Linked DNA regions of Homo sapiens: all the other regions are linked to region 2. Evidence: promoter capture Hi-C in human tissues and cell types (Jung and others, 2019). All regions are on one chromosome and are shown on one strand. Each heading gives the region's core, a stretch centred on a gene start or on the middle of the fragment in contact. The rest is flanking DNA. Distances are from core to core; before and after follow the strand shown.

Region 1 (4,684 bases), core at 865-3,364, 120 kb before region 2:
ACCAGGCTGGTCTCGAACTCCTGACCTCAGGTGATCCACCTGCCTCAGCCTCCCAAAGTGCCGGGATTACAGGCATCAGCCACGGCACCCGGCCTGCACTTCTTCTTGAGAGGCTACCCGTGGCCAGGCACCGCGCAGGCAATGGGGATGATAGTGAGCTGATGTCGGTGGGGCTGAGCGGAAAGACATCTGCCCATGTTCTAGACCAGAGCTGCCCAATAGAAGCATAATGCAGGCCACACATGGAAATGCTTAATTCTTCAGCACCCACATTGAGAAAGTAAAACAAACAAAACTGGGGGCACTCAATTATACGCTTTATGTAACCCAATATACCTGAATATGATCATTTTGACATGTAATCTAGATACAAACTATTTTTTCACTCTTTTTATGGTCCCAAGTCATCAAAATCCCATGTGCATTTCACACACACACACACACACACACACACCCACACACACAGGGAGTGTCTCAATTAGAACCGGCCGTGTTTTAGCTCTGAATGCCCACATGTGGCCCGTGGCCCCTGCACTCAACAGCACCAGGTCTACACAAAACTCTTGAAGAACCAGGAAGCAGTTTTTTTTTTTCTTTTGAGACAGACTCTCACTTTGTCACCCAGGCTAGAGTACAGTGGCTGGTGCAATCTCAGCTCACTGCAACCTCCGCCTCCCAGGTTCAAGCAATTCTCCTGCCTCAGCCTCCCCGGTAGCTGGGACTACAGGCATGCCCACCATGCCTGGCTAATTTTTGTATTTTTAGTAGAGACAGGGTTTCACCATGTTGGCCAGGCTGGTCTTGAACTCCTGACCTCAAGTGATCCACCCGCCTCAGCCTCCCAAAGTGCTGGGATTACAGGTGTGAGCCACCGCACCTGGCTTCCAGGAGGCAGTTTGTACCTAGATTCCTGGCAGAACCCCCTTGCTCGGAATCTGGGCTCCCTTATCACAGACTCCTGCTCCACCTCTCAGCCACTAAGGCCCTAAAGAGCTGCAGAGGAGATCAGAGGCAAAGTCCATTTCTACCACAGCAGCTGTGGGAGCGAGGACAGCGCCATGTGAAAGGAGAGCAACATTGGTGTCTTCATGATAAAATCATCTCTGTTTTTTTACCAAAATTTTTTTCCAAGGAAAATGAACCCACAGGGCAGGGAGAACATCAGGGTTTCGGTGCTGCCTTCTGTCAGGCTCGAGCTGCACCACAGTGGGCCTTCCCTCTGCTGGTGATGCCCTGGCCTTCCTCCCTTCATGCTCTCCCACTCCCACCTCCTCCACCATCAGGCCTGCTCCCCTAGCCCGGAACACCTACCTCCCCCAGTGGTTTCCAGCCACCTTCCTGTGGGCCAGCATAAGTGATTCTCCTTCTAAATTGCCTCCCAATAGGCAGTGAGCAGACCACTTTTTCCTGTAGAGAAGAACTTGGCCTACTCAAGGCTCCATTGACCCTCTCCACAGCATTTACTCTCAAAAACACAATTCCAATACAGTAAAGATTCTAGTCTTCCCAGTGTGGATTTCCAATTACCCACACTCAGCCAAGTGGCAGCCACTTCATTATAATTCTGTAATTGCCATATAGAATTCCCATAAATTTGCTGTTAATTTTTAACCACTGCATCCTTCTCTTAGAAAGTGTAGCAATAATTTGAAAATCCATAGACAATATTTTTAAGTGGATAGAGGCAGAGCAGGGGGAATAAATCCAATGGGGCTGGGTTTAGAGAAAATCCTAATAAAACAGCAGTAGGGGGTTGGCGGGGGGAGGTGAGTATGGGGCTTCCTCCAACTTCAATGCAAACATTTCTTCCTAATATATGGTGTGTTGGTGGCAGCAAGGATTGATCAGAGTCTGATCCGGGAAGATCCTGCTCTTAAATGAGAATGGCTGTGTGCACCAGGTTCTCTGTTAATAGGCACATTCCCTGCCCCCACTGGGAGGTAATTTACAAGCCCGGCTTCCGAGCGTAATCTCCCCACATTGTGCTGCTCCCCGGTGCCTCCCAAATTGCAACACGGACCAGGTCTATAAAAGGTGCTTTGGAGGAAACGGCAGCCATGCCGGCATGCCTGCCCCTGCCCCCACCGAGCAAGTGAACACCCAGGTGCTCAGCAGAGGAATTAGCCTGCCTTTCAGGAGATGCTAATGAGGCAAGTTGGAAGCGGATGAGGTTCAGCCAGGAAGGAAACTGTTGGCCCCACAGAAGCCCTGGGCACCAGGGGCTGGCACAGAGGCCAGACAGATAGTCCTCACAGCAGCCTGCTTCCCTCTGGGGGTCAGGGATGGCAAAAGCTGGATCTCCTAAAGGGAGACAGAGCCAGTGAGAGTGTGCAGGGCCCCAAAGGGAGCAGCAGGCTAACTCAACAGGCGAGGATGTTTTGGTAAAAGGTGGCCATCAGCAGGGCTAGCCGCTGGCCACCCCTGCAAAACAGAGAGTTCACTGACACCCGTGCTTGTTTGGGCCCAGGGAGACAGAGGTGTAGGCAGCCACGGCGGCTCCAGGGTCTGGCTGGAGCTGTCCCTGGTGCTGACGGTCTCACTCTCGTGCCCGGTCCTTCCAGCTCTCGTTCCGTGCTGCCAGGAGGGTTTCAGCCATGGACATCCACATCCAGCCCCCGTGTCCACCCCTAGAAAAAGGAGCTATTGCCTCCAAGCTGGGAGGGTTATCAGGCAGCAGCAGCAATAAGAAATTGGGCCACAGAGCGATTTGAAGGTCCTGGTGTTTGATCTATTGCGGGGCTGGCTCCTTGCAGCTTTGCTGCTCCCGAGTTTGGTGACCTGAGAGAATTAAAGCTGCCTTAAATACAGTCTCTGTTGGCTGTATATTAATCAAGCAGGAATCAAAAGTCACAGCATCCTAGGGAAGTAAGAGCAGGAACAGACGGCTCCCCCCCATCCTGATGCAGCAACTCTCAGTGGGAGGAAAGGCCGGGAGCGGCTAAGAGCAGCATAGGGCCCTCAGCTGGCTGCCAACTTCCCACACCTCCTTGCCAGTGAATTCTCAGAAACCTCATGCCTTGGAACTGGAGAGTTGTGTTGGGGCCAAAACATCGCTGGACCCCAATGCTAGAGTGGATCAGGAAAGGGGAGGGATTTTCCTCCCAGGATCAAGAGGGAGGAGACGGTAGGGGGTTGGCAGGGGTGGCAGCCTCAGAATAGCTTCACACCTAACTCAAGACAAGCTTCCACACCCCCACCAGATAGGCACTTCCCCTGCTCTTGGGCAACTTTTAGGGACTAAAACACATCAGCATCCACTGCCCCATCTCTGCTCACCGGGCAGCAATTCACACAACTTCCCTGGTGTATCTTAGGCTGCCGGGAGGGAAGAGGCTGCCCAGGGTCCTGCCTAACCCTGCCTTCTCCTTGCTCTCAAAGCCTGAGAAAGGAACTCTTATCTGGCCTCTGTCATTGTGGAGGTGTGGGGAGGTGAGTCTGTAGGTTACCGTCTGCATCTGTTCCTTTGCTTCCTGGCAGATATGCTCGTCCCCACTCCCTTGAGTCCTGGGACAAGCTCAGCTCCCATGAGGCTTCGTTAGAAGGACCTTGCACCCCTACCTCCCGCCGCCGGCCGCCTCGTCACTCCATGGCCCGGCCCCTGTCTGCAGCTTGGCACTGGCTGCCTAGCAGTGCATCGGCCTCCCCAGGGCCACGCACTCTGCCAGGACAGTAATGCCTCTCCGGGCCTTTGTGTGCCTTGGGCTCCTAATGAGCTTTTAATGAGCTGACGCTTTGGCTTTAGGGGGCATGCAGGGGCAGGGGACGAACAGAGTGCCCGCCCCTCACATTCTGTTTCCCGAGGCCTTGCGGTTGCTTTTTAACTCACTGAGTGCTGGGGCTGGGGCTACAGGCAGCTGCTTTTTCCAGAGTCTTTCAGGTTTGGTCAGAGTTTGAAGGTCCTAACTTCCCAGTCCTGGGGTGCGGGGTACCCCCGGGCCACCATTCCCTCTCTACAGTGCTGCACGTGCTCTCCATGTGGCCTCTCCTTGCCCAGTGCTGGAGGAAGGGATATTGGTTTCTCTGTTAAGTAAGATTTTCTAAAAATTGATGGCAAATGGGAGCACCCAGCCACTTCACTGCTGGAGGTGGACCCTTGCTGCCTCTACCCAGGGGTCAGCTCAGACCCACCCGCTGTTGATGGAAGAACAAACCTTGACCTCTTCCCATGGGTCTCTACTCAGGAACCCTGAATGCTGTTTCCTCAGTTCAATTCTAACCAAACATGGTGCAAATTCATGCCGGCCGTAGCAATGGGAGCTACCCAAATTGTACCCACATTGTGTGTACAGTCTTCCCTTTTGGACACCCTGAGAGTGCAGGGCTCCTGTTCCCCATCGGTATGCAAGAGCTGTGCTCACTCAGCCCCCTCCCTTTATGCACGGCTTTGCTCTACAAGTTTTGGTCAGTGGCCCCAGTCCCTCCTGGGAGCTACAGGGAGCGGCAGTGGCTTCAGCTTCTGGTCTAAGCTCCCCCTTGTCACTCTTTCAAAGCCTTCACCCTTTGAATAAAATTAAGACGGAAAAGGTTTGTGTACCACGAGGCAGAGTTTCTTGGCACTCAGGGTGATAAAAACCTAACTGGGCTCCCCGGAGAGACAGCAGGGTCTCCCCCAGTGGAGAGCTTCAAGGGGAAAAAAAAGAGAGCACGTGTCTCTGAAGGCTTTGGTGTCTGCCAGCTAGAAGGC
Region 2 (4,969 bases), core at 155-2,654:
GCCATGGCACCAACGTTGAGATTCCCTAAATCTACCAACGCCCAAGGCCACTTCTTTGTTCACTGAGTTGTCATCTGCCATCACTCCACTGCCATTCAGAGGCCTGTTGCAAAGAGTCCTCTGTAGCATCTGCCATCACCAAACACTGACCCAGGGCCTCCAGAATGACATTGGGAGACCCTGAGAACTGCAGGGGTCGGGGACGGATTCAAGCAGAGATGCCGCAGTTGTTCCTCTCCACCTTCCTTTTCCAAAGCCCCCTTCCTCGTTGATGTCCTTATTATACTTCAGCCACCCCCTCCCAGACCTTCTCAGAACAATCCCACACCAGGTCACCTTTGTCACCTGTCATTCCTCCACTAGGAGGGAAAGAGCCATCTCCACATTCCTCCTGTCCAAAAATATCTTTCCCAGCAGCCAGCCTTCATCCCATCTTCATGAGGTCTGAAATGCTCAGCAGTCTCACTGCTTTGGGTTTAGAAACAAAGCTACGGCTGCTGTTTCCGGAAGCCATGTCTGTGCTCCTAACTTCTCCCCCTGCAACCTACTGAGGGGGAGTTTACCGGGTGGGCAAGTGCCCCCCAAAGGAAGGAAGCCCAGCCCAGAGGGGCATGTTCGTCCCTTTCTGTCTCTGTGCTTTGGCCCTTTCTGTTCCCCGCCAGTTGGATACCCTACTCCCTATTCTCCACCTACTGAAGGCTTCCTCCTCCCCAAAGACTCAGTTCTAGTGTCACCCCTACAGAAGGCCACCCCTTCCACCAGCCGGCATCCACTGAGCCAGGCATGAGCACCGCCGCCGGGATCTTCCGCATAGACCAGCGACGTGGGAAGCAGGGGTCTGGCCGGGGCGTCGGGATTCCCGCTGGGCCCCGCGGCCACTCGGGTTTGCACCCGTATTTCTGAGATAGGCAGGGGTCACGCACGGGGGCCGGAGGCCGCTGCCCGGCAGTGGCGCGAGGACGGCGGGGCGGACCGGGGCGGAGGGGCGCTGCCACCCTCTGTCCCTTACTGTGCACGGAGCGGACACAGGCGCCGGCCCCCCGCCCCTCGGCGCGCCCGTGCCGGGAAACCTCGGGCCCCGGGGCCACGGACTCTCAGCCCCGCGGATCGGGGTTCACGCGGGCCCCGCAGCCCCACCTCCTTCCCGGCCGCCGCCGCCGCGGCCGCGGCTCCTGATCCTCCTGCTCCTCCTGCGTCCCCGCCTCCGGGGCCGCCAGCCCCTGCAGCTGCCGCCGCCGCCGCCGTGTAGCCGACCGGGTGACCGTCACCGCCGCGGCCTCCATGACACTGTCCGCGCACGCCGAGAGGCAATCGCAGGCCCGGGCCCGCCCCCGCGCCGCGCTCGGCCAATGGGAAGTGCGCAGCGCTGACGCCGCGCTGGGACGGGACTCCGAGCTGACTCCCGGCCAGCGGCCGCGCGGCGGGGACTTTGTTGAGGCGACAGGCCGGGGGCGGGGCCGAGGACGGGGCGGGGCTGTGAGGGGCGGGGCCTGGGCGAGTTCCGAGCCCAGGGTTCGTCGTCGTTCTTGTTGTTGCCCATCATTGGCTATGAGTCCAGGGTGCTAGAAGGCTCTAGAAGGCTTCGGAACGCCCCAATCTTAGAGTTCTCTCTTTAGCCTCACCAGCTTCCTTTGTCAAGCAAACCGAGGTTTATCCCAGAGAGATTAAGCAATCTCCCAGAGGGCACAAAGTCAGCAAATGGTGGCAATGAGATTTTAACTCATGCAGCTAACCCCTATTAAAAGATAATTTTCAGACCGGGCGCGGTGACTCACGTCTGCGATTCCAGCACTTTGGGAGGCCGAGGCGGGCGGATCACCTGAAGTCAGGAGTTCGAGACTACCCTGGCCAACATGGTGAAACCCCGTCTCTACTTAAAATACAAAAATTAGCCGGGCGTGGTGGTGCATGCCTGTAATCCCAGCTACCTGAGAGGCTGAGACTGGAGAATCGCTGGAACCCGGGAGGCAGAGGCTGCAATGAGCCGAGACGGTGCCATTGCACTCCAGCCTGGGCGACAGAGGGAGACTCCGTCTCAAAAAAAAAAAAAAAAAGATGAAAGGTTAGTAGGTTAGTATCGGGCCATGTGGAAGCTGGTGTCCTATGTAGGATGCATAGTTTTCCAGTGAAACACGGATTTCTTTCTACAGCCCCACGCCTGTGCCCAACAGTAGTAGTTGCTCTACCCCTAAGCGTGCAGGGCCTGGAGTGGCACCTCTGCAAGAGTGGCACTGCCCAGCGTCTTAGGCACAAAAGGAGTTCACAGGAAACATGATAGAACAGAGCCCTGAGAAGCCAGAACTCAAGGCTGGGCCCCACAGGGCAAACCAAGGCTCTCCTCCCTCCAGGCCCCAACGCCCCTCCACAGCTAGGAGCTTCCAGTGCTGGGCTGCAGCTGCCGCCCAAGCCAAGTTGACTGGGCCTTTATTATTGTTGCAGACTTTGAACTTTATGAGGCTCCAAGCTTCCATAAACGCCAATGGTGGGAACTATGACTAAGGTTGTTGAATATGGGCCATGGTGCAGGCCAGCCAGTTAGGCAGGAAGGACGGGCCACTCAGAAGCAGGACACGCTGACCCATGGGGAGGACAGAGAAGGCAGAGGGCTCCTCTTTGGGGCTTCAGTCCTGGGAAGCTTACAGTGAGCGAGGGCAGTGGATCCCCAAGTTCCCTCCTGCTGTGTTCAGGGGTGCACCGGACGTGGACAGTCTTGATCTGGGGTGCATGTAACCAGGTGTTCCCAAGCCCTCACCTGCAGCTTAGCAATAAAAATAGATAAACTTTCATCCTACCCAGGTTAGAACACAGTTCTAAGGGATACTTTGAACAGCCTTTGGGTAATGCTCAGTCTCTGGGAGAAAATATGCCCAAACCTCCCTTTTCTTCTCTCCTTTCCAAAGAGTAGGCACCTGGTCTAGAAGAGCAAGAAAGTGAAGGCAGCCTTGCACGCCCCTGAGGACAGAAAGGACTTAGGCCTTGTGGCCTCTTGTTAGCCCCTGTGGCTCGTGGTCTCTCTGGATGTCAGGCCAAGCCTGGAGGGGCCCTGTCTGCCTTGAGCTCACATTGGCTCATACTGGGGCTCTGGATCCGTTTGAGGCCTGAGTGGGCCCTCTAAAACCCTAACCTTCTGGTGTTTTCAGATAACATACAGAGCAATCAGTTAAATTTGAATTCCAAATAAATGATGCCTGGGACATAGGACAAGCTTATATTAAAAAGTTATTGCATATTTATCTAAAATTCAAACTGAACTAGGATGCTGTCTATGCATTTGCTAAATCTGGCATCCCTACCTGTGAATCTGAACTACAGCCTCGGCAGAGCCACCCTGCCCTGTTACAGGGGCCCCTCTGACACCTCCCTGCAGGCTCTTGGCTGTCCTGGGCTCTGCCCACACCAGTACTGGTTGGTTTGGGACAGCTGAGCCTCGGGTCTCCCTGCCTGACCATGCTGTCCCATCAGCTTCCTGTTGCAGGTCGTGACGCAGTGCATGCACTTGCCTCTGCACCCCCCCTCGCCATGCCCAGAGCGCCCGGAGTGGGGACCTAGAGTCACACCTGCTTGCTCTGCCTTCCTCTGCCTCCTCCTTCATGGCCTCCGGGGGAGCCGGAAATGAGAATCAGGTGAGTGGACACCACCTGGTCCCCGGGCTTGGTTGCTGATATGCTGAAGAGTGTGGCAGGAACTAATTGTCCCCAATATTCCTTCCGAGCCTGTCCTTTAGGAACGGAAGCCCCACGTTTTTGCTGACTACATGGTAGCCCAGATGAAGACAGCATTCCCCAGAGGCAGAACTTAGACCTTCCACGTGTACTTACTTACAAGTAAGCTGTGGTTTATGAAACAAGAAACAAAGTGAGAAGTGCAATTCTGGTTGTGCCTGCAAAACAAAGGGGGCATTGCCCTCCACCTTTCCTTCCTGGCTTCTCTTGGTCGCCAGCTGGGTGCAAGGATGTGATGGCAGGAACTGCAGCAACCATCTGAGACCATGAGATGAAAGCCACTTGTGGAAGGGCTGGGAGGGGCCTAGGTCCCCAACAGCAAGACTAGTGTTGCCCTGGACTGCTTATGTCTGGACTTTTTTTTTTTTTGAGACAGAGTCTCACTCTCATCCAGGCTGGAGCTCAGTGGCGTGATCTCCGCACACTAACTGCAACCTCCAGCTCCCGGGTTCAAGCGATTCTCCTGCCTCAGCCTCCCAAGTAGCTGGGATTACAGGCGCCCACCATCACGCCTGGTAATTTTTTGTATTTTCGGTGGAGACAGGGTTTCACCATGTTGGCCAGGCTAGTCTCGAACTCCCACCTCAGTCTCCTGAATAGCTGGGAGTACAGGCGCCCACCACCACGCCAGGCTAATTTTTTTTTTTTTTCTTTGAGATGGAGTCTTGCTCTGTCATCAGGCTGATCTGCCCACCTCAGCCTCCCAAAATGCTGGAATTGCAGGCATGAGCCACTGCTCCCGGCCAGCCCAGACTCTTAAATGACAGAAATACCCTTCTGTCTTATTTAAGCCAATACTCTGTTGGTGTTTTTACAGTAGCTAAATCTAACTAAGATGAGTGGGATAAATCCTGGAATTTAGACAAACCTCTCAAAACAGCAGCCTGCTTGCAAGGCTGGTATCTTTTTTTGTCATTCAAAATCTTCTTACCTTGTTCGTTGTCACTGCATTCCTTCTGCAATAAATCTCACTGTCCCTTCATTCAGATACATGTCTCAGACCAGCTGGAGGAAAAACAAAAAGCACAATGTAAAACTTTCAAGGCTGGACGCAGTGGCTCACGCCTGTAATCTCATCACTTTGGGAGGCCAAGGCAGGAGGACTGATTGCTTGAGCAGGCTTGGAAACCAGCCTGGGCAACATGGAGAAACCCCATCTCTCCAAAAAAATATGAAAAATTAGCCTGGGCCAGGCACGGTGGCTCATGCCTGTAATCCTAGCACTTTGGGAGGTAGAGGTGGGCAGA
Region 3 (4,467 bases), core at 965-3,464, 75 kb before region 2:
CCCCTCCCATCGCCTCCCCTCCTCCCCCTGCAGGTCCCCTCCCACCCTCGCCTCCCCTCCTCCCCCTGCAGGTCCCCTCCCATTGCCTCCCCTCCTCCCCCTGCAGGTCCCCTCCCATCCTCGCCTCCCCTCCTCCCCCTGCAGGTCCCCTCCCATCGCCTCCCCTCCTCCCCCTGCAGGTCCCCTCCCATCGCCTCCCCTCCTCCCCCTGCAGGTCCCCTCCCATCCTCACCTCCCCTCCTCCCCCTGCAGGTCCCCTCCCATCCTCGCCTCCCCTCCTCCCCCTGCAGGTCCCCTCCCAGCCCCGTGCCTTTGCTCTCTGCCGGGAAGCCCCTTCCCCTCCTTCCCGTGACACCGAACGTGTCTGGACCCAGAGCCGTCGGGACCACGCGTCCCGTGGGGCAGCTGACCCAGGGTCCCTTCAGCCCCGGCACTGGATTTCGCTTCTCCCCCTGGACTGTGTGTCTTTTTCTTCTCTTGTGTTCCCCTCAGCCCTCCCAGGGCAGGGGGTGGTCAGCACGCAGGGTCTGATGCCGGCTTTGTTGCTTGCCCCGAGTAGGGGGAGCAGCGCGAGGATCAAACCCAGAATCTGCGCCAAGAGCTGCATTTATTGTGGTTCTGAGAGTCCAGGGCCCAGCATGGTGGAGGGATGTGTGTGTGCTGAGCACTTGCGGAGCGTGGACTGGGGAGGTGGCCTTGCCCTGGTGAGAGCCGCACAGCAGCGGGGCGGCCACCAGCACTGCCCAGCCCTCTGTGGCAGGCAGCAAGCCAGGCTCGTTGCCCAACTGAGGCTCCCTCGCAGGCGGCGCTAGGCATGAGCAAGCCCTCGTCCTCCCATTGCGCACACGGGGACACTGAGGCTCGAGCTGAGGTGACCCCCCTGAGGCCCCATGGCCAGTCAGAGGCACCCTGTGGCCTCTGCAGTTCCCTGCCCCCCTCTTTTCTCGGAAGTGCCCATCCCTACCTGCCTCTTCTCTGGCTAAGAATGTGGGGCAGGTGTGGGGTTGCTGGGGAAAGGAGGAGATGGGAGGTGAATCTGTTGCCCCTGCCCCTGGCAGGCCTGGCCTTGCCCCCAGAGGTGGTCAGGTATCCCCTACTTCAGTGACAGCTCTGGTGGCCCTGCACCTCCCATTGTCTCCCCTGGTTCTCAAAGAAGTTGAGCCAGCGCGGCCACCTGTAGAGTGTCCGGCAGTTCAGCTGCCTCCTATCTTGAGTGATGGGCAGGCGGGACCAGGGTGAGGTTGAGGCACTGAAGGAACCTCCTGGGCTGGGGAACAGGGTATGGGGGTTGCGGATGGAGCTGAGTTAGGGGGTTGGCCGCCTGCAGAGCCCAGAGAACGGCCAGGCCTCTACTGTCTGCGTGTCCCAGGCCCACAGCAGCCACTCTGCCCCTTGACCCAGAGCGTCCTACCCAAGCAGAGTGGCCTGGGCCCCAGCCAGGACCCCCCACGAGGCTTTGTGCCTTGAGGGCCTCAGTCTCCTGGGACGTGGCTGCTGCTCTAGGTCGTGGCCCACAGCTGCCGCCCACCGCTGCCCACCACCCTCTTGTCCTGACCTCAAGGGCAGCTCCTGGTTGCCCCTCCCCTGTGGATACCTGAGAGTCCCTCCTTGTCTGCCTCCAACTAGATCCACCCCAAACCCCCACCCTCAACCCCCATCCCCATCCCCCACCCCCACCCCCCACCCTCAACCCCCATCCCCATCCCCCACCCCCACCCCCATCCCCATCCCCACCCTCAGCCCCCATCCCCATCCCCACCCTGGCACTTAGCCTGAGTCCTCAGCGCAGCCACTGTCACTGCTTATTATAACACCTGTCCCCCTCCTGTCTCCAGGCCCCAGAGGAGGAGGCTGGCAGCCATCTCTGTCCCCTCACCCTGGCACTCAGAGATGCTCAGTGGAAGCTCAGCTCATGGCGATGCCCAGCAGCCGCCCTGCCCTGTCCTCCCAGGACCTGCAGGTCCGTTTACTGACCCCACTCGACATCCCAGGGTCTTGGGTCCGACAAAGTGAGAGAAGGCCTGAGCGGGCGGGCATGAGCCCCTAGGCCACCCCCAACCTTCTGCAGTGTGTGGGGACGGTCCAGCTGGCGGGGAAGGCAGTGGTCAAGCAGTCCCGAAGGAGGAATCGTCCACGGACCCCCCCAGGCACACTTCCCACTGCCCCACCCACTTCACAGCCTGAAGCTCCTCCCCACAGCCCACCAAAGTCCTTCTCACTGAGGCCAGGTCCACTCTCGTGTCCAGCCCTGCTCCTCCCCCAGGACAGCAATGCCCGTGTTCCAATCCAACGAGTGGGGAGAGCCACCAGGAGGGGCCGGGGCTGGGCCTGAGCCAAGCCCCCCTTTGTCCTCCCCCGTGCCCCCACTCCCCCCACTGCCTGCATCTGGGCTCCCCGTGGCTGCACCGGGCCAGGGAGGGGTCCCGAGATGCTGCCTCCCACGCTCTACTAAGCCCCAGATGGATGCCCTGCCACCTTCCCAGGCCTTTGCTAATTTGGAAACACCATCCCTGGTGTAACCCCGGCAATAATAGCACAGACGTCGCATTTTCCTGGCAGGCAGCGGGGGTCCCAGCCTGGGTGCTGCGGGAGCCTCCATGCCCTGGAGGATCTCCTTGTGCTTCTTAAGCTTTAGAGTGCGCTGTTCGTCAGTGGTGGGAGCTGCAGGCTGAGTGTTTGAATCCCACCCAGTCCAAGCCCAGAACAGCATGAGGGTTTTATGGTTAGCGTTTCTTGAATGAATTATTCCAGCCCCTTGAAGTTCCTGGAGAAAGCCCCAGGCTGTCCCCCTCCATCCCCCATGACCTTACAAACTCAGGACCTGATCAGTGCCAGCGAGGGTGGTCTCAGCCTTTCCCATCCTCTGGGGACTTTGGCCTTAGCCTACCCCAGCCAGGCCCGCAGAGGCCCTCGGAGGCTGCAGGGAGCCCCGGCGGGGTCGGCCTCCCTCCCCTGCGTCCTCAGACTCTGTGGCCTGTGCTTCTGGGATAGAGTCGCCCAACTCTCATCACTTCCAGGAAGCAACTGCCTCATGTCGGGCACTGAGATTAGATCTTGGTCTTAGTTTATTCTCAACAACCTGTAAGGTGGCCCCAACTACTGTTAGCCTCAGTTGAAGACTAGGAAGCGGATACCCAGAGAAGTTCAGTGGCCTTCGGGAGGCACTCAGTGGCCGGGGACAGAGGCAGGATTGGAACCATGGTCTGGGGGGGTGTGGGGTGCTTCTCCCTCCTCCTGTGGCTCAAACCTGGGTTTGGCTTCAGGCTGTGGCATGAGCCCTGCCCCTTCCACCCCCCAACTTCTGTCACCCAGGCCCCAGCAGTGGGGCACAGGGCATGTTTGAGCTTCTAGAAACATCTAGACTTGGACCCGCCCCAAGCCAGGAAAGAGTTTCTGAGTGAGGCCTGCAGGAGGCAGCCGAGAGGCTTGGGAAGGGACCTTGGGAGGCTGGAGAAGGGACTGTGGGTGGGAAACGGGACCCCAGTCCTCCAACCAGAATGGAGACTCCAGGCACAGAACACAGCTGCAAGGAGTGTTAGCCATGACCGCTCCCAAAACCTAGAGAGGCTACCGTGTTCCTGTCTGCCAGACACCTGTCTCTGGGTCTTTAGGGCCGCACGCACCCTGGGGTCCCACGGTGAGGAAATCTTGGTCACAGGCCAGAGCCTGGCCCTGTACATCCGCCCTCCCCCCGGGGCCCCACGGCAGCGGCGGCTCTGGATGGATGGTGCAGCATTTTGGGTAATGAAATATTCACAGGTCAGTGATTCCTTGAGAAATGATGGGGATCAGTCAATTCCTTTTCAGGGAGTAATTTTCTTCCCCTTCACAGCCTCTGTTTCATGTTGACAGTCATTAGCATGAGAGAGAGGCTGGATCGAAGGCGCTTGGCAAAGCTTGCACCAGCTACTGCCTCGTCGCCCACCGGCAGCCCTGGCCAGGTACTGGGCACCAGGGGCGCAGAGCCTGCCTGGACACACTTGTGGGTGGCGGACAAGGCCCTTGGCCAGCCCAGAACCAGGGGTGTGCAAGGCTGATTGGGCTCCACGTGCTCTGCCTTTTGGGGTCTTGCCAACTACCTGCTTTGGGCTTTGCCAAGGGCAGGGGACAGCCATGGCCCCCAGGATCCTCTTACCAGAAGGTGAGCCCCCCCCCTCCCCAATGAGATCCTCCCGATCTCTGGACCAGGGCCTGCCTCTCAGGGCAGCAGGGAACTCCCCAGGCCTCTTCTGGCGCACAGCATGGGCCAGGCTCCGGAGGGGTTGGGGGAAGGCTGGCGGCCTCACTGCCTTTACAGCCTCTTCCAGGCTTTGGGCTCAAACCCCAACTCTGATGTTCCCTAGTTAATTATCTTCTCTACATCTGGGTTTCTGCTTCTGTAAAATGGGCTGCGTAGGGCTGGTGAACTGAAGCTGTCCTCCCGGCCACCTGCAGAGGTGGGCACTGAATGGATTTCCTGCCTCCTCC

The links. The method cuts DNA at HindIII sites, captures the fragments that hold promoters and counts their contacts. A contact is called where the count stands out against the background at its distance.
Region 1: a fragment that was not itself captured here is called in contact with the fragment with the promoter of ENGASE in region 2 in 2 of the 25 tissues and cell types used here (dorsolateral prefrontal cortex and heart right ventricle).
Region 3: a fragment that was not itself captured here is called in contact with the fragment with the promoter of ENGASE in region 2 in 4 of the 25 tissues and cell types used here (dorsolateral prefrontal cortex, liver, spleen and 1 more).

What each region holds. Positions count from the first base shown.
Region 1 is chr17:79,190,524-79,195,207 of GRCh38, reverse strand. The region is part of intron 4 of RBFOX3 (RNA binding fox-1 homolog 3); the gene reads left to right. Among named protein-coding and RNA genes, the nearest start is that of ENGASE, 120 kb to the right of the region's middle. RefSeq lists an enhancer at 1,740-2,397. The HindIII fragment of the contact is 5,468 bases long and covers 1-4,684 here.
Region 2 is chr17:79,071,259-79,076,227 of GRCh38, reverse strand. It overlaps ENGASE (endo-beta-N-acetylglucosaminidase), which reads right to left and starts at 1,404. Exons shown (of 14, transcript NM_001042573.3): 1 at 1,138-1,404. The coding sequence starts at 1,283. RefSeq lists a silencer at 1,003-1,542. The HindIII fragment of the contact is 14,853 bases long and covers 1-2,920 here.
Region 3 is chr17:79,147,244-79,151,710 of GRCh38, reverse strand. The region is part of intron 4 of RBFOX3 (RNA binding fox-1 homolog 3); the gene reads left to right. Among named protein-coding and RNA genes, the nearest start is that of ENGASE, 75 kb to the right of the region's middle. The HindIII fragment of the contact is 7,480 bases long and covers 1-4,467 here.